Regions from separate parts of the Homo sapiens genome. Here all the other regions are linked to region 2. The links are contacts of gene promoters, found by promoter capture Hi-C in blood cells and fetal thymus (Javierre and others, 2016). All regions are on one chromosome and are shown on one strand. Each heading gives the region's core, a stretch centred on a gene start or on the middle of the fragment in contact. The rest is flanking DNA. Distances are from core to core; before and after follow the strand shown.

The links. The method cuts DNA at HindIII sites, captures the fragments that hold promoters and counts their contacts. A CHiCAGO score of 5 or more calls a contact.
Region 1: a contact is called between a fragment that was not itself captured here and the fragment with the promoter of SMG8 in region 2, in 1 of 17 cell types (megakaryocytes). The highest score is 5.7, in megakaryocytes.
Region 3: a fragment that was not itself captured here is called in contact with the fragment with the promoter of SMG8 in region 2 in 1 of 17 cell types (endothelial precursors); the score reaches 5.0 in endothelial precursors.

The regions. Positions count from the first base shown.
Region 1 is chr17:59,686,832-59,689,531 of GRCh38, forward strand. All of the region lies in intron 30 of CLTC (clathrin heavy chain), which reads left to right. Among named protein-coding and RNA genes, the nearest start is that of PTRH2, 19 kb to the right of the region's middle. The HindIII fragment of the contact is 806 bases long and covers 852-1,657 here.
Region 2 is chr17:59,208,424-59,211,345 of GRCh38, forward strand. It overlaps SMG8 (SMG8 nonsense mediated mRNA decay factor), which reads left to right and starts at 1,612. Exons shown (of 4, transcript NM_018149.7): 1 at 1,612-2,922. The coding sequence starts at 1,629. RefSeq lists an enhancer at 1,421-1,490. The HindIII fragment of the contact is 12,029 bases long and covers 1-2,626 here.
Region 3 is chr17:59,547,497-59,550,399 of GRCh38, forward strand. All of the region lies in intron 2 of LOC105371847 (a long non-coding RNA gene), which reads left to right. Among named protein-coding and RNA genes, the nearest start is that of DHX40, 17 kb to the right of the region's middle. The HindIII fragment of the contact is 1,723 bases long and covers 473-2,195 here.

The sequences.
Region 1 (2,700 bases), core at 5-2,504, 480 kb after region 2:
ACACAAAATTCTAAATTTTGCTTCCAGTATGCCCTTTATTTTCACTTCTCTCATACCTTTTTAGTGGTTAGATGTTTCTTCCCTAAACCTTTGTTGCTGATTCTACCTTTTTATGCTCAATATGGAATTGATTTTTTTTCTAAGCTGCACCTTCTGAATTCCTTTGCAGGTTGATGCAATAAAGGAAAAGGTGAAAGTTGATTCTTTAACATCTTTAAGTCTGGAGGACTAAGTCTAAGGAATTTGCATGATGTTTTTCCTTCCTCTTCTACACTGCTGCTGCTGCTTTTTCCCCCCAATAAATTTTCACTAAAGCCTCTGCAAGTCCCTTGAAACATAACTTTAATAGAGCTGTAGGACATTAGTAGACGTTTGCTACTAATCGGCTAATAGGCTTTAGGAAGGGCAGGAGGCTAATCAGTAGTTGGTTCACAGTCTCTCTTAAATATATTATGAAAAACTGAGTATGGTGAGTTTCCATATTAATTTCAAAGTAACAGGAAATTTCTCTTCCCTGTCAGGGTATCTGGACCATAATAGGACTGTCATAATCCTTGAAGTAAATTAAAACAGCCTCTGGTTTTACTTTGTGAGCTTGCCTGACAGTTGTCGAATTTATATATGTATATATACATGCCCTAAAAGGCTTTTTGGGGTTTTTTTTTTTTTGTATTGAAGGACTGTGATCCAGTTTCTGATCTCTTGATTCTTACTAATTTTTTGCTGAAAGTAGATACGAGAGATACTAGCTGCTTCCGAAGAGACTTTCCTCATGTTTCTCCAGGTGTCCAGTTCTTATGGTGCTAGTCCATTTTTAAGAGGAATCAAAACCTTTTTAATCATGAGAGCCAAGCTTGCTATAATTGTTGCTAAGCAACATGAATTATTTTTAACAAAGTATTAACTTCTACTTTCTGTAATAAGGCATACCTCTGAAGCTACCTAAAATTTGCTCTCCTATTTATCAGTTGGCTTGTCCAAGGATGTCAAATTCAGGCACCTTTTGGTTGCTGCTTCCTTCATTGGCTTGTCTCCATCCCAATATAAATGAAACAAACTTACGTCTGTTATCAAATTGTGGTTAGAAAAGGGTGGGAAGGTAAAGGAGAGTTGAAACAAATTTAAAAGAATTTGGGTGGGGGACAATGCCTTGGGATTATGTTGAACCAAACTGGAATCACCACTGGAACTTAGGGCAAACCTGAGTAAAATGCATTGTGTGTGAGACCCTTCAGCAGCTAGTAAGCAAGGCAGTTAGAAAGCGTGTGTGTGAAAAACAGGTAATTGAACTGCAGTGTTATGCATTGTTTTAAATGAAGCATGTACAACAGTCATTGCAATTACATCATACTATTTTTGAAACTCTTATAGCATTGCTGTGGGCTGTGTGTGTTTCTTGAGAGCCTGTATAGCAAGTCATCTTCAGACCTCACTTCTTGCTTCAGTACTTTTGCCTTTTTTTCATGCACACATACACCAAAATAACTGACTGCATGTTACTTTTCCTCTGCAGCACATTGCAGTCTTTGTGGAAAAGCCTTTTACATTTTAGTGAATTTTCAGTAGTACAGATGGAACTGAATTCATTGACATGCTTACCTGTAATTTTTCTTTTTAAATCCAAGGATCAGAAACTTTAGTTACAGCTCTTAACAAAAGCTTGTGTTCTTAAAAGACTTCTCTGCTTTTTTTTTGAGCAATCTAAATTGGATCAGTGGAAACAAAAATTGAAAGTCCCTGTGCCAGAGGCTGTCCCATTATATAGAAGAATCAAACTTTTTGCTTAGCTTGATGCTATTCCTTCAGAATTCTTCCCCCTACGCCCAAACTTCCTATGTGTATGCCAGGGCATTGTGATATTGCCAGCTCTTCTAAGTCTTCCATGTGTTTCTCTAATAGGACTTCTGTGTTCAACATCTGATTCAGACCTTAACTTTTAAACACATGTTCACTTCAGATTCTTTTCCCTGGAAGTCCGGAAATGTATTATGCAGTGGTGGCTTTTTGGTTGTTTCATTTTTCTTCTTTTTTCTTAGAAGTTACTAATATACAGGCATCCATGTATTTTTCTTTATAACTTCTGTAGCTCTTTCTTGAATACTGGTTAGTTAGCAAAACCCCATCTGATCCTTGATGGCACAGAGCTGTGCTTTAAGTTCTATAACTAATAATTTTTGTTCTAAGTGTGGATGCCAAAAAATGGACATTTCATATGGTACTTATACTACATAATAGTCTTTAATTTGATATTAGGGTAATTTGTAACACATCATTTAGACTATAAAGTAGGATAATAGTGTATAAAAGTAAACTAATCCATCTTCCTAGGCTAGAAATTAAACCACATTTCATCTGAAGGAGCCTACTTAGGCTTACTTTTCTCAAACTTTCAGTTCCCTAACAAATTAAGATGGATTAGACTCATATTTATGGTATTTAATATGAAACAATTAAATATAAAACAGTGCCCTAACCTTAATGGCCTATGTGAAGACTGAAAGATACTTTTTTAATAGTTTCAAACAGAAATGAGGTGCTGCCTTAATCTTTTTAGGACCTGGTTTTTAGAAACTTTTCCACTGAAGTCTACAATTTTTTTTTTTGAGTGATTTTTCATAATTTGCCTTTTTGAAGAACATGCAGTGAGCATTCATAAAGTGTTTCCCCCTGCACCTTGGCCCCCCGTCTCATGCAGCACAT
Region 2 (2,922 bases), core at 362-2,861:
CCGCCCATGGTGGTGCACCTGTAATCCCAGCTCCTTGGGAGGCTGAGGCAGTAGAATCACTTGAACCTGGGAGGTGGAGTTTGCAGTGAGCTTAGATTGCACCACTGTACTCCACTCTGGGCAACAGAGCAAGACTCTGTCTCAAAATATATATAATATATATTATTATGTATATATATAATATATATTATTATGTATATGTGTAATATATATTATTATGTATATATATAATATATATATTATATCATAATCCCTTCCCTCACTAAGTAATCACTGACCTACTTGGTACAATAAATATTTCCTTGCTTTTAGTAAGAACACACCCCTAAATGCAATGGTTTATTTTGCTTGCTTTTGAACTCTATAGAAATAAAATCAGGCCTGGCGCAGTGGCTCTCGCCTGTAATCCCACCACTTTGGGAGGCCGAGGCGGGCAGATCATGAGATCAGGAGATTGAGACTATCCTGGCCAACATGGTGAAATCCTGTCTCTATTAAAAATACAAAAGTTAGCTGGGTGTGGTCTCACGCACCTGTAATCCCAGCTACTTGGGAGGCTGAGGCAAGAGAATCACTTGCACCGGGGAGCCGGAGGTTGCAGTGAGTCGAGATCGCGCCACTGAACTCTAGCCTGGCCACAGAGCAAGACTGCATCTCCAAAAAAAAAAAAAAAAAAAAAAAAAAATAGAATTATAGGGTATATACACTTTTGTTTCTGATTTCTTTCAATCAACATTTATTTTAAAGATTCAGTCATGTTATTGTATAGTGCTATAGATAATTTTTTTAGATTCAAAGATTTTTATTTTTTACAAAACCCCAGAATAATAAACGTTATAATTATACATTTAAATCTGGTTGTAAGTTTTATCCTGGCAGCTATTTGTCAATATGCCTTCTAGTTAGAGAGGTTCTGCAAGTTATAATTTACATACAAAGATATTTCGCAATTTTTTTTTTTTTTGAGACGGAGTCTCACTCTGTCGCCCAGGCTGGAGTGCAGCGGGGTGATCTCGGCTCACTGCAACCTCCACCTCCTGGTTCGAGCAATTCTCCTGCCTCAGCCTCCTGAGCAGCTGGAACTACAGGTATGCGCCACCACGCCTAATTTTTGCTTTTTTTTTTTTTTTTTTTTTTTTTTTTAGACGGTTTTCGCTCTTGTTGCCCAGGCTGGAGTGCAATGGTGTGATCTCGGTTCACTGCAACTTCCGCCTCCCGGGTTCAAGCGATTGTCCTGCCTCAGCCTCCCGAGTAGCTGGGATTACAGGCGCCCGCCACCACGCCCGGCTAATTTTCGTATTTTTAGTAGAGATGGGGTTTCACCATGTTGGCCAGCCTGGTCTCGAACTCCTGACTTCAGGTGATCCGCCCGCCTTGGCCTCCCAAAGTGCTAGGATTACAGGCGTGAGCCACCGCAGTAGTCCCAGTTTTGTTTTGTTTTTTTGTTTTTTGTTTTTGATATCTCAATTCCTACAGTTGAGGAAACAAACTAGGAGAGGAGAAGAGGAGGCGGAACTCAAGTGACGGGAAAGCAGGAACTGAAGAAGCGGAGGAAGGATTTCAAAATTGGACGAAAGCCGGTCGGTTTTACTAACGGACCGGAAGGACTCTAGAGAACGCTCTGCACTATGGCTGGTCCCGTGAGCTTGCGAGACCTTCTAATGGGAGCATCAGCCTGGATGGGCTCTGAAAGTCCCGGAGGGTCCCCTACTGAGGGCGGAGGGAGCGCGGCTGGCGGACCGGAGCCTCCATGGCGGGAGGATGAGATCTGCGTTGTGGGAATCTTCGGCAAGACGGCTCTACGCCTGAATTCCGAGAAGTTCTCTCTTGTGAATACGGTGTGCGACCGACAGGTCTTTCCTCTCTTTCGCCACCAAGATCCTGGGGATCCAGGACCTGGAATCAGAACTGAGGCTGGCGCCGTGGGTGAGGCCGGTGGAGCCGAGGACCCTGGGGCTGCAGCCGGGGGTTCAGTTCGGGGAAGTGGAGCTGTCGCGGAAGGTAACCGAACTGAGGCAGGCTCCCAGGACTACAGCCTTCTGCAGGCCTACTACAGTCAGGAAAGCAAAGTTCTGTATCTTCTCCTCACCTCCATCTGTGACAATTCACAGCTTCTCCGGGCTTGTCGGGCTCTTCAGAGCGGGGAAGCTGGAGGTGGACTCTCTTTACCTCATGCAGAAGCACACGAGTTCTGGAAGCATCAAGAGAAGCTGCAGTGCCTCAGTCTCCTTTACCTATTCTCTGTCTGTCATATCTTGCTTCTGGTCCATCCCACTTGTTCCTTTGATATCACTTATGATCGAGTATTCAGAGCCCTGGATGGGCTGAGACAGAAGGTCCTGCCGCTCCTTAAAACAGCCATTAAGGATTGTCCAGTTGGCAAAGACTGGAAGCTAAACTGCCGACCTTGCCCACCTAGACTCCTTTTCCTCTTTCAACTCAATGGAGCCCTCAAGGTAGAACCTCCTCGGAACCAAGACCCAGCTCATCCAGACAAGCCCAAGAAACATTCTCCCAAAAGGAGGCTGCAGCATGCCCTGGAGGACCAGATCTATAGAATCTTCCGGAAGAGTCGTGTCTTGACTAATCAGAGCATCAACTGCCTCTTTACTGTGCCTGCCAACCAAGCTTTCGTGTACATAGTACCGGGAAGCCAGGAGGAGGACCCAGTAGGTATGTTGCTGGACCAACTTAGGAGTCATTGTACTGTGAAGGACCCGGAATCTTTGCTGGTGCCTGCACCCCTTTCTGGGCCTAGGCGATACCAGGTGATGAGGCAGCACAGCCGACAACAACTTTCCTTTCACATTGACAGCAGCAGTTCCAGTTCTTCAGGCCAGCTAGTGGATTTCACTCTTCGGGAATTCCTATGGCAGCATGTGGAGCTAGTTCTAAGCAAGAAAGGTTTCGATGACAGTGTGG
Region 3 (2,903 bases), core at 84-2,583, 340 kb after region 2:
CCTATTAAATGTTCTGTGTTACCCAGGGGAATGGTCAGGGCGGTGAGTAATGATGGTCACGATGCATATGGTTTTCTATAGTCCTAATTGTCAGTGCATTTAGATCCGAGGAAAGGAACAAATTAAAAAGGGCAGAATGGCTGGGTGAGCACTTTCTTGTGATTGCAAAGAACTGGGTCTATTCTTACCCTTTCTGCCCCTTGCTTTATGCTTTACACCTGCCATTTCCAGACTGACAAGGCGCTTTGGTGGCGCCTTGGTCAATGCAATGGGGACTACAATTAATTTAAAAAGGGGTAATGCATGCAAATCGCAGAAAAATATTAACACCAGGAGAAAAAACACAGTGTGGAAAAATAATCCTACAAAAATGTTTATAGTGGGGTCAAACATTTACCCACATTATAATTCCAATACATGCAAAGAAAATACTCCTTTTTAATTTCTATCATGGACCTAATTTTTCCTTGCAAGCTTCCACCTTGCTCTATAATAAGAGGAAAAAAACCAACCAAACGTTAAACTTGTCATTCCAGGCAACAATCTTTTTTTAGTTTAAATAGTTTATTTTGGCCCTGCATGGTGGCTTACTTCTCTATTTAATCCCAGTGCTTTGGGAGACCAAGGAAGGAAAATGGCTTGAGGCCAGGAGTTCAAGACCAGCCTGGGAAACATAGCGAGACCCCGTTTCTAGAAAAAATTTAAAAATTAGCTGGGTGTGGCAGTGCATACCTGTAGTCCCAGCTATTCAGGAGGCCAAAGCAGGAGGATTTCTTGAGTCCAGGAGTTTGAGGCTGTAGTGAGCTATGATTGTGCCACTGCACTCCAGCCTGAGTGACTGAGACCCTGTCTCAAAAAATATAAATAAATAAATAAATAAATAGTCACTTTTGAATAACAAATTTTCTTTTGGTTAAATCCAGAATCTTTCACATTTCTTCCTGCTTCCCTCTGCTTCTGTTCAAAATAATGTCTAGCTGTACAGAGGGATTTGTGACCTAGGGTGGCAAGGAGAGGAAGGGCCTCAGATCTATGTGGGGGTCTCAGGATCAAATTTGTCTCTATACCAGAGTGCATGTTTAGGGGAGCCAGAGATCAACCCCCTTTTGCTCTTAGTGGCCTCTTCAGCTAGATCTAGAAACCAAATTGACACCAGGCAGATTAACAAGGGAAAAGCAAACAAATTGTATTAGTTCTACATGTACATGGGGGTATTCACAAGAGCATGAAGTCTGAATAAGTAGCCAAAGCAAGATGCTTTTGTATTTTTAGACAAAAAATGTTACATTTGAAAAGAAATGACAGAACAAAGAGTATCTGGCCAGGGGCAGTAAATTTTCTAGGGGAGTCACTCGGACATGTATGGAGGATGTAAAACAGGTGGAAGAAAAGGGTTACTTCGTCAAGTACATTTATTCGATCCATTGCAGCCTCCAATTCTTTTTTTTTTTTTTTTTTTGAAATGGAGTCTCACTCTGCACCCCAGGCTGGAGTGCAGTGGTGCGATCTCACTCACTGTAACATCCTCCTCCAAGGTTCAAGTGATTCTCCTGCCTTAGCCTTCCAAGTAGCTGGGACTACAGGCGCCCACCACCACGCCCGGTTAATTTTTGTATTTTAGAGACGGGGTTTCATCATGTTGGCCAGGCTGGTCTTGAACTCCTGACCTCAGGCAATCTGCCCGCCTGTACCTCCCAAAGTGCTGGGATTACAGTCGTGAGCCACCCCGCCTGGCCTGCAGCCTCCAATTCTAAGTCTCTGGTGATAAGGGTTTGCTCGCTCTGGTATGCAGAGGGTGCCCCTCCCAGAGGCATCTGTATCTCTTGCTGCATGAAATTACAATTTCTCAACTGTTTTCAATTTCAAATAATTACTATACCAATCCGGAATATTTTGGGATGGCACATTCTTCACTCCTTCACATATCTCTGACTAAGTTATTTACATAGTAGAAATAAGTTCTCTATTATATCAGAAAAGTTGCAAAAGTAATTTATTTCTATTGTTTTTTATTTAATGTTTTTTATCTACCATGTATTTACTTTTTTTATACTTTCCTACCTTCTATTGAGTTACTGATTTATTTTTCACCCTTACTGACTTGAAAGTTATGTTAAAAAAATTAACCTTTACTTATTATCGATTAAAAAGGAGTTTCTCTGATAAAAAAGTGGGGTTTCAGGTTTATAACGTAAAGCTTTATGTGATATAGAAAAATGTATCAGTAAACAAAGCATGTTGTTTTCTTACAGGCTTACACAATTTTGAAATCAATCTTTTCCTCATTGTAATTACATAGAAGCTTAAAATTTTTTTAAGTTTGTTTTATCCATTTTTCCTTGTATACTTTACCTTTGGTGGCAAGTTCACAGTTACCAAGTATATTTTCTTCACAGTGGTAAAATTAACAAGAACTTACTTTTGCTTTTTTTATTTATAAGAACAATATCACTTCCTTTTACTGAATCAATGTTTACTCTTAAATTTGTAACATGCATGGCTCAACTTGGTCTAAGATACTGTCAGCCTCTTTTGAACAGTATACAATCTGAGAAACTTTATTCCTCCCATTCTTCCTGTTATTATAGTAATTTGGTTTCACCTTTTCAAAAACCCTCTCAACTTAGAGTATTAATTTATTTATTTTTATTTTTGTTTTATTTTTTATTTATTTATTTTTGAGACGGAGTCTCGCTCTTGTTGCTCAGGCTGGAGTGCAGTGGTGTGATCTCAGCTCACTGCAACCTCTACCTCCCGGGCTCAAGCAATTCTCCTGCCTCAGCCTCCCGAGTAGCTGGGATTACAGGTGCACGCCACCATGCCCGGCTAATTTTTGTATTTTTGGTAGGACAGGGTTTCACCTTGTTGGCCAGGCTGGTCTCGGACTCCTGACCTCAAGTGAT